2 separate regions of the Homo sapiens genome follow, and region 2 is linked to region 1. The links are contacts of gene promoters, found by promoter capture Hi-C in blood cells and fetal thymus (Javierre and others, 2016). All regions are on one chromosome and are shown on one strand. The core of a region is centred on a gene start or on the middle of the fragment in contact, and the rest is flanking DNA. Distances in the headings are between cores, read along the strand shown.

Region 1 (6,731 bases), core at 3,314-5,813:
GCAAGATCCGCCTCCCGGGTTCATGCAATTCTCCTGCCTCAGCCTCCCGAATAGCTGGGACTACAGGTACCTGCCACTATGCCCACCTAATTTTTTTGAATTTTTTTAGTAGAGACGGGGTTTCACAGTGTTAGGCAGGATGGTCTCCATCTCTGGACCTTGTGATCCGTCCACCTCAGCCTCCCAAAGTGCTGGGATTACAGGCATGAGCCACTGCGCCCGGCCTAGAATTTTTTTTTTAAGAGACAAGGTATCACAATGTTGCCCATGCTAGTATCAAACTCCCAGGCTCCAGCGATTCTCCCACCTCAGCCTCCCAAGTATCTGGGACTACAGGTGCAGGCCACCATGCCAAGCATAGTGATGTTACTCTTACCCACAGAGGCCAGGTTCATGTAGTTCTCCAGCATCACATCTCTGTAGAGGTATTTCTCAGTTGTGTCCAGTAAAGCCCACTCCTCTGGGGTGAAGTCCACAGCCACATCATCAAACGTCACTGAATCCTATGTCATCATACACATGCTGGTTTGAGCCAATGAACACTTCCACCAATATTCACTGGAGAATGATGAAGGGGAACCTTATACTCACTTACACGTGGTTGTCAGGTCTCCCATGATCTACTCCAGGGTTTAATGTCTCAGGAGCTCTTGTGTCTAAACACTCAAGGTTGACCTCCTACAGGCATATGCCTTAAACAGCACTTTTTAAAATTTTTTTAAATCTTTTTTTGCTGATCTATTTTTAATTTTTTAATATTTGTATTTTTAAATTTTAAATTTTATTTTTATTTTGATTAGAACAGTACTTCCTAAAGATGAATTTTCCTCTATCTATCATCTATCTAATCTGTTTATTTATTTATATATAAAAACAGGGTCCAACTGTGTCACCCAGGCACAACTGCTGATTACTACAGCTTCGATCTCCTGGGCTGAAGTGGTCCTCTCACCTCTGTCTCCTGAGTAGCTGGAATTACAGGCATGAGCCACTGCACACTGCTTACGCTTGATCTCAGCACAACCAGGCTAGGAGCTCTTCCTGTCCCATTGGTGTCTATGCAGCACACTCCTCAGCACACTGCAGATACCTGATAAATGCTGATAAGTGAATGATTTGATAAAAGGACACTTTCATCTGCTTTATCATCCGTCACCGCACCCAGCAATGTAAGAAAGATGCAGTTGGCACCATGAAGGTCAAGCTTAAGTAGTAATTACTGAGCTACTGGACTGATTTTCAAGTTAACATTTTATGTATAGGAGACTTCATTCCCTGGGGAAATTCATCTGGGGACTCAGTCCTTGAGTAAGGCTTCATTTGCTCTAAGAAAACTCTGAAGATGAGTCTGTCTAGAAAGAAATCTGTCTACCTATTGGATGAAAGCATATCATTTTTAACAACAGTACGTTTTCTGCTTACCTGATAACCACTTGCCAGGTAGTCCTCCACCATCCTTTCTACCTTTGTCTTTTCTTCAAAAGGGCAGATTGGTTCCCTGGAAAAAAACCCTAGTGGAAAAGTAAGAAGGCATGAGAAGCCAGAGCTGCCCATCCTTCCCACATTCTCATGCCTAGAAGTCATTCCATCCTAGCTTGAAATTCCGATATGCTCCTACACACTCGAGAAAACTACACACACAACACTTCCATGAAATGCCATAGTAAGTCCTGTGTCAGCTAGACACAAAAGCAGACTTGGGCCAAACTGCCTGTTGGGTAAAGGGTAATAGTTTCATTTTTCAAGGAAACTTACACCCTGAAAAATGTGACTCTCGTCCAGGTGCGGTGCCTCATGCCTGTAATCCCAGCACTTTGGGAGGCCGAGGCGGGTGGATCATGAGGTCAGGAGAACGAGACCATCCTAGCTAACACGGTGAAACCCCATCTCTACTAAAAATACAAAAAATTAGCCAGATGTGGTGGTGGGCATCTATAGTCCCAGCTACTCAGGAGGCTGAGGCAGGAGAATGGTGTGAACCCAGGAGGCGGAGCTTGCAGTGAGCCGAGATCGTGCCACTGCACTCTAGCCTGGGTGACAGAGCAAGACTCCGTCTCAAAAAAAAAAAAAGTGACTCTCTATCTGCCCATAGTAGTAACACTCATGAAGCTTATGTAGCATTTCCTAAGGTACACAAACCAGGGCTGAATTCTAAAACAGCATTCTGGCTGGGCACAGTGGCTCATGCCTGTAATCCCAATACTTTGGGAGGCCAAGGCGGGCAAATCACTTGAGGTCAGGAATTTGAGACCAGCCTGGCCAACATTATGAAACCCCATCTCTACTAAAAATAGAAAAATTATGGGAGGCTGAGGCAGAGAATTACTTGAACCCAGGAGACAGAAGTTGCAGTGAGTCGAGACCACAGGCACTGCACTCCAGCCTGGGAGACAGAGTGAGATTCTGTCTCAAAAACAAAAACAAACAAACAAACAAAAATTAGCCAGGTCTGGCAGTATGTGCTTGTGGTCCCAGATACTTGGGAGGCTGAGGCAAGAGAATCACTTGAACCTGGGAGGTGAAGGTTGCAGTGAGCTAAGATTGCACCACTGCACTCCAGCCTGGGTGACGGAACAAGATTCTGTCTCAAAAATAAATAAATAAATAAATAAATAATAAAACAGCATTCTGTTCTGTGGTTCACTTCAATTCCTCCTAAAAGAACCAGCTGCATGCCTGCTCAGGCTCAGCTCACTGGACGCTTGTGTTGTGGAGGGTGACCTAAAGCAGAATCTCTGAAAAAGAGCATCAACAAAGACTTACCACGGGACAAATAAATGGCTGCCATTCTCTGAAGCTGATGGTGTGATGATGTGCATCCCTTCCTTGATGCCAAGATCACCTCAGGCCAGCTTATGAATCTAGGTGGATAGAGGCAATCTCCATTCCTCTTTGTACAGGGTTATTTGCGGTCCTGTTCATATCAATCATCAAACAACAAGCATGAAACATCAGTCATCAAACATTATGCCTGAGCTTTGTCTCTGCAGGTGACAGATGTGAAGGCCACCAAAAATTGCCCACTCAGTACCGTCACTCAGTAACAAAAGTATTAATAACAGTAACTGACATTTACTGAGGACTGATATGTCAGAAGTAGCTCTAGTAGCTTTATATATACATGCTCAGTTAATTATCATAGCCATCCTTCCCAGTAGCTATCATTACCTCTATCTATCTATATCTATCTATATTTATCTATCTATATCTATCTATCTATATATCTATCTATATCTATCTATCTATATCTATCCTATCTATCTATCTATCTATCTATCGAGACAGGGTCTCACTCTGTTGCCCAGGTTGAAATCCAATGGCACTAACACAACTCTCTGTAGCCTAGACTTCCCGGGCTCAAGTGATCCTCCCACTTCAGCCTCCTGAATAGCTGGGACCATAGGTGCGTATCATCACTCATTATTATTATTATTATTTTGAGACAGAGTCTCACTCTGTTGCCCAGGCTGGAATGCAGTGGCATGATCTCAACTCATTGCAACCTCTGCCTCCCAGGTGCAAGCGATTATCAGGCCTCAGCCTCCCGAGTAGCTGGGATTTCAGGTATGCACTACCATGCCTGGCTAATTTTTGCATTTTTAGTAGAGACGCAGTTTCGCCATATTGGCCAGGCTGGTCTTGAACTCCTGGCCTTAAGTGATTCTCCCACTTCAGCCCCCCAACTAGCTGGGACTACAGGTGCACACCACTGGGTCCGGCTAATTTTTTGTAGTTTTAGTAGAGACAAGTTTTCACCAGATTGCCTAGGCTAGTCTCAAACTCCTGGGCTCAAACAATCCTCCTGACTTGGCCTCCCAAAGTGCTGGGATAATAAGCATAAGCCACGATGCCTGGCCCATTACTTCTATTTAATACTGAAAAAAACCTACACTCAAACAACCCTAGTAGTCGGTCTGATACTTGTCCCTAGAGCCTGATCTCCTGTATATGGTGTTACCCCCCCGCCATATGACCAGAAGACAGTGCAGACCTGCACAGAACAATTCAGTAGTCACCAGCCACGTGTGTTATTGATAACTTCATTACGTACCTAAGATGACTTAAGAACAAAATCTAAAATTTTCAAAAGTCGGCCGGGTGCAGTGGCTCACACCTATAATCCCAGCACTTTGGGGGACCGAGGCAGACAGATCACCTAAGGTCAGGAGTTCAAGACCAGCCTGGCCAACATGGCAAAACCATCTCTACTAAAGATAGAAAAAGTAGCCGGGCGTGGTGGCACTTGCCTGTAATCCCAGGTACTCGGAAGGCTGAGGCAGGAGAACTGCTTGACCCTGGAGGCAGAGGTTGCAGAGGTTGCAGTGAGCCGAGAGAGCGCGCAGCCTCTCCGAACTGGACGCACAGGGAGGACTGATAGTCCCTGGAGAAGCGAGTGAAGTGAAGCGGATCTGAGAGGCTCCTAGGCGACAGCGCGCAATCATTCCTTTGCCGCCCCCTGCTATCCCCGGGACCGCCAAGGAGGTGGAACTCACCACAGCCTGGGCAGACTCCACCACCATAAAGGCGAAACCGCACTGACGGAGAGGAGCCAGCGCCGGAAAAGATGGCGGTGGTGCGCTGACGTCACTTCCGCTTCAACACTCTGGCCGGGCGAGGCTCGTGGGCTCCAGTTTCAGCCACGTAGGACCGGGTAGAACACAGAAATTCTAGTTTCCTCTCGGGTGGGTGCAGAAAGGGCCTGGGGTTGGCTCAGGGAGGGGGATGCAGAACTAGGTCCAGAGAAAAAGGTGAGGTTAGAACCGGGCCTCCAGACGGAACTGTGGGCGAGGGGAGGGGCTCGTACTCGGGGGGTGATTTAGAGGAGGGACCCGGCCTAGCCGGTGGTTCAGGTGGCCGGTCGGGCTGGAAGGGCGGGGATGAGGGATGGGACGCATCCCCGGGGGATGCTCCTCCAAAGCTTTTATCGGGCGAGCGCAGTGGCTCACGCCTGTAATTCCTGCACTTTGGGAGGCTAAGGTAGGTAAATAGCTTGAGTCTGCTGGGAATGGGTGCTCGCTTGGTGTCACAAAATCAACACTGAGACAAAGGATCTCAGCAAGGCTAGTTTTACTTTCTGCAGAATGGGTGCCACTGGCTGGCAGTCTTGCCACCAGAGCACACATTAACAAAGGAGACAGGGTTTTTTTAAACTTGAAGTGTCCATCCTTCTGCTGTGTCCAGCTTCCATTGGCTGGAACGGGACCTCACCTTCCTGTACTTCACTGGATTGGCTAGCAACTTAGAACTTCCCAAAAGAGGCAATGGCAGAGGAGAACAAAGGAAGAGAGGAAGTAACTTGTGGACTGTTGAGAGAGGCAAAAACACTTCTAAATAGGGAAAGGAATAGGCCATGACCTAATAGTTGCTTGGACCAGTTCAGGCATGCCAGGGCAAATATCTAGGCTAAAATGTGGGAGCTAAAAACAGAGTCTATTGATTTCTTTATTACGGCTGGCAGAATTTAACAATATTACCACAGGTCTTTGAGAAAATTTGGCTTCTAAGAGGGATTACTATTTATTTCAATCAGACTGGGAGGAAAGTCCCTTTGAAGAGGAACCTGTATTTATTTCATTTTCTACAAGTCCAAGAGTTTGAGACCAGCCTGGGCAAAGTAGCAAGACCCTGTCTCTCTCTCTCTCTCTCTCTCTATATATATATATATAAACATATATGTATAAATACATATAAATATATAAATATATAAAAAATATATAAATATACATGTTCAAAATGCTTGTTCCCTGGTGCCATAAAGAAATTAGCACTTGAACATAAATTTAATTTACTCAGCAAGGCCATTTTTACTTCCTGCAGAAACGGTATACTCACCAGCAGTTTTGCCACGAGAGTACACCAAACAAAGGAGATAGGGTCATTTATAACCTGATGCTTCCAACCTACTGCTGTGTCCAGTTTCCACTGGCTGGAATGGGACCTCACGTTCTGGCTAGCAACTTATAACTTTTTAAAAGAGGCAAGGGTAGAGGAGAACAAAGGAAGGAGGAAGTAACTTGTGGAATGCTGAGAAGGGTCAAAACATCTTCAAATAAGGAAAAAGAACAGGCTATGCCCTAATGCTTGCCTGGACCAGTACAAGCATGCCAGGGCAAATATGTAGACTAAACTGTGGGAGCTAAGAATATAAAGTACATTGATTTCTTTATCACGGCTCACAGATACTTGAGAATGTTAGCACAGGTCTTTGAATAAATTTTGCTTCTAAGAGAAGTTACTATTTATTCCTAATTAAATGTGAAGGAACGTCTTTGAAGAGGAACCTCTGCTTTACTTTTTAGATATAAATATAAAGCTTGTTTGTATGCCTCTCCTCATGTTCCTAGAGCCTTTCCATGATTCTTCCATATTGATAAAGCTGCCAATGAATGGCATGGTCTATCCCTTCCATTCAGTCAGAGTTTCTGTAGGCCTTTTTTTCTTCATTCTTTATTTTTTAGAACCTGCTGATTCCATTGGGTTTTCTTTTTCTTTCTTGCTTGCTTGCTTGCTTGCGACAGATCTCACTGGATCAGACCAGGCTGGAGTGCAGTGGTGTGATCTCAGCTCACCGCAACCTCCACCTCCCAGGTTCAAGCAATTCTCCTGCCTCAGCCTCTGGAGTAGCTGGGATTACAGGCGCCTGCCACCACGCCCAGCTAATTTTTGTATTTTTAGTAGAGAACGATTTCACCAGGTTGGCCAGGCTGATCTCGAACTCCTGGCCTAAAATA
Region 2 (7,164 bases), core at 55-2,554, 35 kb before region 1:
GTCAAACACAGAAATTGTAGTTTCTTCCCGGGTGGGCGCGGACAGGCCCTTACTTGGGGGCGGTTTAGAGGTGGGACCCGGCTAGCCGGCGGTTCAGGTGGCCGGACCTGCTGGAAGGGCGGGCGTGGGGGATGGGACGCACCCCAGGGGATGCTCCTGCAGAGCTTTTCCCAGGTGGGCACAGTGGCTAAGGCCTGTAAGTCCAACACTTTGGGAGGCTAAGGCAGGTGGATAGCTTGAGTCCAAGAGTTCAAGACCAGCGTGGGCAAAATAGCAACATCCTTTATTAAAATATATATGTGTGTATACATATATATAAAGCTTGTTTGTATACATCTCATGTTCCTAGAGCCTTTCCATGATTCTTCCATATGGATAAAGCTGCCAGTGAATGGCATGGTCTATCTCTTCTATTCAGTCAGGCTTTCTGTAGGCCTTTATTTCTTCATTCTTTATTTTTTAGAACCTGCTGGTTCCATTGCGTTTTCTTTTTTCGTTTTTCTTTTTCATTTTTTATTTTTTTTTGAGACAGATCTCACTCTGTTGCCCAGGCTGGAGTGCAGTGGCATGACCTCGGCTCACTGTAACCTCTGCCCCCCGGGTTCAAGTGATTCTCCTGCCTCAACCTCCCGAGTAGCTGGGATTACAGATGTCTGCCTCCACGCCCAGCTAATTTTTGTACTTTTAGTAGAGAAGAGTTTCACCATGATGGCCAGACTGATCTCGAACTCCTGACCTCCAATGATCTGTCTCCCTCAGCTTCCCAAAGTGCTGGAATTATAGACATGAGCCACCGCACCCGGCCACGTTTTCAATATAATAATATTTTCTGTAAATCTTGATTTTTTTTTGTCTTCATCAAGTATGTATTTCTGGCTGGGTATGGTGGCTTATGCCTATAATCCCAGCAATTTGGGAGGCCAAGGGATCGTTTGAGGCCAGGAGTTTGAGACCAGCCTGGGCAATACAGCAAGACCCCGTCTCTGTTTAAAAAAAATTTTAAATATGTTTTTGTTTTTGTTTTGAGATGGAGTCTAGCTCTGTTGCCCAGGCTGGAGTGCAGTGGCACGATCTTGCTCACTGCAACCTCTGCCTCCCGGGTTCAAGCGATTCTTCTCTCTCAGCCTCCTGAGTAGCAGAGATTACAGGCAGGCGCCGCCATGCCCGGCTAATTTTTGTATTTTTAGTAAAGACAGGGTTTCACCATATTGGCCCAGTTGGTCTCGAACTCCTGACCTCATGATCCGCCTGCCTCACCTTTCCAAAGTGCTGGGATTACAGATGTGAGCCACCACGCCTGGCCAAAAACATGTATTTCTATTGTTATTTTTCTGATCTTCCCACATGGGCCAGGACCACATTTCCTACATTGTAAAATAGCACTGACACCAGACATTCTCCCCAGGTTTATTCAGAAATGTAACATAATCCCAGTAAAAATATTAAAAGTTTTTTCTGGAGTTAGGTACGTTGATACTAAAGTTTATGTGGAAGAATAAATATCTGATAATAACCAAGAAAACAAAAACAAAAGCAATGATGAGCAGCAGATGTTAAAACATACTATTAACAGTTTTCACACAAGGCAAATAATTAAATTATATTAAAATAAAAATAAATAAGACATACTATAAAGCCTCTATAATTAAAACTATGTGGTACTAGCACATGAAGCAGAAACAGACTAATAAAATATCTAAAAACAGACCCAAGAACATGTAGGAATTTGGTTCATAAATGTGGTATTTTGCCAGGCGCGGTGGCTCATACCTGTAATCCTAGCAATTTGGGAGGCTGAGGCGGGAGGATCACCTGAAGTCAGGAGTTCGAAACCAGCCTGTCCAACATGGTGAAACCCTGTCTCTAATAAAAATACAAAAATAAAATTAGCCAAGCATGGTGGTGGGCTTTCTGTAATCCCAGCTATTCGGGAGGCTGAGGCAGGAGAATCGCTGAAACCCAGAAGGCAGAGGTTGCAGTGAGCCGAGATCGCGCCACTGGACTCCAGCCTGGGCAACAAGAGTGAAAATCCATCTCAAAAAAAAAAAAAAAAGGTATTTCAGATCAATGAGGCAAAAAAAGCCATTTGTAATGGAAAGTCTAAGACAGCTGGGTAGCCATCAGAGAAAAGATGAAATTAAATCCATACTTCACAGCATATACAAGAATAAACTCTAAATGGACTAGGGATCTAAATGTGAAAAATAAAACCATATACGCATTCAGGGTGTAAGTGATTTCTTGGCTGAGTAAGGAAAAAGACGTGACCACAAGGCGGCAGTAGCACACAAGCTTCATTTGGGATGTGCTTTGACAGGTAAGGAGTGGCGGGAGGTAGCAAACAGCAAGAGAATATCCACAGGCTTCTACCTGTGGGTCGCTGCTCAGAAAGGGTGGAAAGGAAGAAAGACTCCCAGAGGAGAAGGGGAATCAAAGAGGGGGCTTATATGACTAAGTGACGATGCTCAGCAGCCTGGCAGCATATCTTCCAGTTAAAAAGTTCTGAAGGACAAGTCTGGCCAACATGGTGAAACTCCGCCTCTACTAAAAATACAAAAATTAGCCGGGCATGGTGGCGGGCGCCTGTAATCCCAGCTACTCGGGAGGATGAGGCAGGAGAATTGCTTATACCCGGGAAGCGGCGGTTGTATTGAGCCAAGATCGCGCCATTGCACTCCAGCCTGGGCGATAGAGTGAGACTCAGTCTCAAAAAAATAAAAATAAAATATGTAATTATCTGTTCATTCTGAGTACAGGGAAACACTGATAGGACTATCCTGAAAATAATAAGATTCAGAATCTATCGGGGATAGATGGGAAGGGCTTGAACAGAATGGTGGGATAAGAACAAAATGGAGAGGATAGGGATAGGGAAACCTCTCTGAGCATATCATTCTGTTTAGTTCTGATGTTTAAAATCACATTCTACTTTTTTTTTTTCTTTTTGACAGGGTTTCACTCTGTCACACAGGCTGGAGTGTAGTAGCGTTATCATTGCTCAGTGCAGCCTTTACTTTGTGAGCTCAAGTAATCCTCCTGCCCAAGTACCAGGGAATACATATGTACACCACCACATCCAGCTAATTTTTAAAAATATTTTGGGTAGAGAAGAGATCTCTCTATGTTGCCCAGGCTGCTCTTGAACTTCCAGTCTGTCACATATAAAGTTTTGGTGCCACAAAAGAAATAACACTTGAATATAAAATTTTCTTTTTAATTCTCAGCAAGGCAAGATACTTCTATAGAAGGGTGCACTCTCACAGATGGAGCAATGGTGGGCACACACCTGGACAAGGGAGGGAAAGGGGTTCTTATTCCTGACACACGTGGTCCCTACTGCTCTGTCGTTCCCCTACTGGCTAGGGTTGGACCTCACAGGCTAAACTAATTCCGATTGACTAATTTAAAGAGAGTGATGGAGTGAGCGGTTTGGGAAAAGGGTGCTTTATGAGGAAGTTAAGTTTAAAAGTAGAAGGCAAAGAATTGAGCATACTGACATATTAATTCTTTGAAGAGAAATTTATAATTCATTTTCAACAACTTCCTCCTCTTGCATTTTTTTTATGGCTTTCTCTTCAAACTTATTTAACATGTCTTGACTTAGTTGTTCTGCTTGATTTTCCAAAAGAAGGAGCTTCTCTGGATAAGGTGGAGGATAGTTAAAGGAGGTTTTAGTAAGTGCCATTTCTATGAGCCTCTGCACCAACCTACAGATGCATGGTATGACACGGCACCTGACAAGGATAAGTACACCCATTACGGCTACAAGGGAGGTGAGAATTGAGGCTATTATTCCTTTCCATTTACCGAACCACTTTTCTAGCCATTCTGTAAATGGGTAATTTACCCCTGAATTGCTGGCCAACTCATTGGATAGAGGAGTCAGGCCTTGCAATGCCTTTCTTATACTTCCATTAGGGGCCGTGTTGTTTGGGATGAAGTTGCAACAATGAGTTTTAATAATGATGCAAACTCCTCCTCTTTCTGCTAATACCATGTCTAAAGCTATCCTATTTTCCCAAGCCATCAGGTTAGTAGCCCCCAATTGCTCAGCTATTCCTTTAACAGCATCTCTAGTGTAGTTAATAAATCGCTGTTGGTTGTAATAGATGTAGTTTACCCAATCTACATTTTTTTTTTTTTGAGATGGAGTCTCACTCTGTCACCCAGGCTGGAATGCAGTGGTGCGATCTTGGCTCACTGCAAGCTCCGCCTCCTGGGTTCATGCCATTCTCCTACCTCAGCCTCCTGAGTAGTTGGGACTACAGGCACCTGCCACCATGCCCGGTGAATTTTTTGTATTTTTAGTAGAGACAGGGTTTCACCGCGTTACCCAGGATGGTCTCAATCTCCTGACCTTGTGATCCGCCCGCCTCGGCCTCCCAAAGTGCTGGGATTACAGGCATGAGCCATCGCGCCCGGCCCACCCAATCTACATTTTTATTAACTGTCGCCTACCAAAATATTGACTTAAATCCTGCAGCTATTGGATTTTGGGCTTTAAATTGATCTGGTATTCCCCGTGGGACTCCAATTGCATCTAAATAGCCGTGAGAGTTGAAAGACCTATAACGGGCTTGTCTTGCTTTACGAAGTCTTATCTTTCCTCCCTCTGGTTGCTGAAATGCCAGGGTGAAAGGGATAGCCAATTGGACTAAAGCACAAGTGCCACTCCAGTTATTCAGCAGAGTGTCCAGTAAAGGTCCACCACAATACCACCACACATCCGCTCAGGGATGAGCAAGGGCTGACTGATTGGTAAGCTCTTGAAAGTTCTTAAGCTCACTGCATCCCTTCAGGTCTCCAAGGAACACTAAGTTTCCTCTCTGTTGTGAGAGACACGAAGTGAACTTAATGTTGGGAGATGGAAGCTGGATGGCCCTCGGGGGCTGACCAGCATGTTGTTGAACTTCAGGATATAGCAGAGACAGAGAGTCGGCATGACTCTTTACCCTAGGCTGTAGAATCCTGGAAAAGAGTTACCATGCAGCCCATGCCCGGTCTATTGGAGAACCACCCTAGTGGAAAGGGGACAATCTGGGCCTCTGGCCTGCTGTGCGCACTAGCATAACAATTGCTTTTGTTTAACATGCGGATGGAATATTTGATCCATTCCAACCAGGTATTTACATCTTGGTATCCTGTCTCAATTGCCAAAGTTTAAGTCTTTAACTTCTACCATCGCTATCATGGCCTTGTCCTTAGATGGAGGAGGAACAATGGTTCCGTTGTGAGAGGTTTTGGAAAAAGGCTAAGAGGCAGGTGCAGGCAGCGGGAGATCAAAGAAACGCATTTCAAAGAATCCAGTAGGGTCTGTCCTTGAAACCTCAGCCCCTATACCATAAAACCGGCTTAAAGAAAGGAACTGGCTTAGAAAAGGAGAACTTTGGGGCTCAAAATACTAACCTGTATAGGGTTGCACTGGTTTGGCTGACAGTTGGGGGGGGCTGTCCCTTTAGTAAATGAATGTATGGTTTTAGGAAATTCCAAAAACTGGTTAGGGCAGTCCATCCTTGCTCTTTGGTGGTCCACAGAACGTTGGACCAACTACGGCATAAAAGCTCTACATCGGGGGTTGGGGTCAAGACTCCTGGTTTCCACTGGGATCTTTATGGAAATCTCCCAGATTAAATGGTCCTAATTCACTAATGCCCAGTCTGAGGAGAGCCAGGAGGGACAGAGGTGCTTTTCTGAAGTAGTGAGCTGCCTTTGACTTGACAAATCCCCACAGGGTATAACAAGGCAAGCATTAAATGCAACAGTTTGAGGCAAAATTGACTTGGTTATGTTAATAACTAGATGGTCAGCAACAGAGCGAGGAAAGAAGAAAGAGTAATAGAATAGATGAAAGACAGTTAAATTCTTCTTAGCTTTAGTTTGGTAGGGTTTTCCCCTGGGACTATGGCCCACCACTCTGGAGGTGGTGGCGCGTTCTTGACTCTGGTGTGATGAGTCCATCCTCTCTCTGCCGTGCGGACTGCGGTTTCAGTAGTGAGGAGCAGTAAGTAATGAGATTCCCAGGCTGGCTCAGGCTTCTCCTCTTTCCAGCTCTTGATGAGGACATGATCCCCAGGCTGATGATGCACTGGGAACTCTAAGGGTGGCACCTGTGCTAATAGACCTTTAGTTTTAAGAGAAGAGAGAATAGAAGATAGACAAAGTATATAATTTTTAAGGATTGATCTTTTGTTTCAAAGGTAGGAATATCAGCAGTGGAGTGCAAATAAGGTAATCCATAGAGCATCTCATAAGGAGAAAGACCAACGTCTTTCCGTGGTGCAGTTTGAATTCTCAGCAGGGCGATAGGAAGACACTTGGTCCATGGCAATCGAGTCTCTAAGACTAATTTGGTTAAGTGGTTCTTTAGAGTCTGATTCATTCTTTCTACTCTCCCTGATGAGGGTGGGTGCCAGGGAGTATGGTGTTCCTATTTAATGTCTAATGTTTGGGATAGCTTTTTAATAATGTGTGTGGTGAAATGAGTTCCATTGTCTGAGTCAATATTTTCTATTAGTCCAAACCTGGGTACTATATTTTCAATTAAGGCCTTAACTACATTATTGGCTGTTGCATTTGAAAAGGGGACAGCTTCAACCAAGTGAGTGAGGTAGTCTACTATCACTAGTAAATATTTTAGACGACCTATTGGAGGCATTTCTGTGTAATCAACTTGGATACTTTGGAATGGCCTTAAGCCCAGATTCCTTCCCCCGAGAGGTAATCTTTTTATAGTATGTCTATTAGTTTTCTTACATACTAAGCAACTATCTGTAACCTGTTTGGCCAGAGTATAAATTCCTATATAACTATAAACTCTGAGAACTGCATCACACATGGCCTGGGGCCCCCAGTGGGTCTCATGATGTAGTTAGGATAAGACTTCCCTCATAAGGGGTTTGGACAACATTTCTCTCTGGTCTGACAGCATCCACTTTCCTTCTGAATTCTCTTTAGCGTCTATGTTTATTAGTTTCTCTTTTTTGGTGGAAGAGAAAATGGGGATTATGGTAGGAGGAGGGAGGTAGGGAGTTAAGTGAAAAATATGCATTTCAGAAGACACAGCAGCCTGCTTGGCTACCTGATCTGCTAGGTTATTTCCTCGACTTTCAAAAGAGGTTTTTCTGTTGTCCGGGAACATGGACAATAGTTATTTTTTCCGGCAAC

What was found. The method cuts DNA at HindIII sites, captures the fragments that hold promoters and counts their contacts. A CHiCAGO score of 5 or more calls a contact.
Region 2: a fragment that was not itself captured here is called in contact with the fragment with the promoter of ZNF561 in region 1 in 1 of 17 cell types (fetal thymus); the score reaches 5.5 in fetal thymus.

What each region holds. Positions count from the first base shown.
Region 1 is chr19:9,616,669-9,623,399 of GRCh38, forward strand. It overlaps ZNF561 (zinc finger protein 561), which reads right to left and starts at 4,564. Exons shown (of 6, transcript NM_152289.3): 1 at 4,494-4,564; 2 at 2,764-2,914; 3 at 1,423-1,511; 4 at 377-503. The coding sequence starts at 2,788. ZNF561-AS1 (ZNF561 antisense RNA 1) reads left to right here and starts at 4,814. Exons shown (of 4, transcript NR_122038.1): 1 at 4,814-4,977. RefSeq lists enhancers at 3,743-4,325, 4,474-4,893. The HindIII fragment of the contact is 2,809 bases long and covers 2,108-4,916 here.
Region 2 is chr19:9,584,619-9,591,782 of GRCh38, forward strand. It overlaps LOC105376914 (a long non-coding RNA gene), which reads right to left. Exons shown (of 2, transcript XR_936311.3): 2 at 5,851-6,121. Among named protein-coding and RNA genes, the nearest start is that of ZNF121, 3.7 kb to the left of the region's middle. RefSeq lists enhancers at 1-276, 4,817-5,463. The HindIII fragment of the contact is 1,971 bases long and covers 320-2,290 here.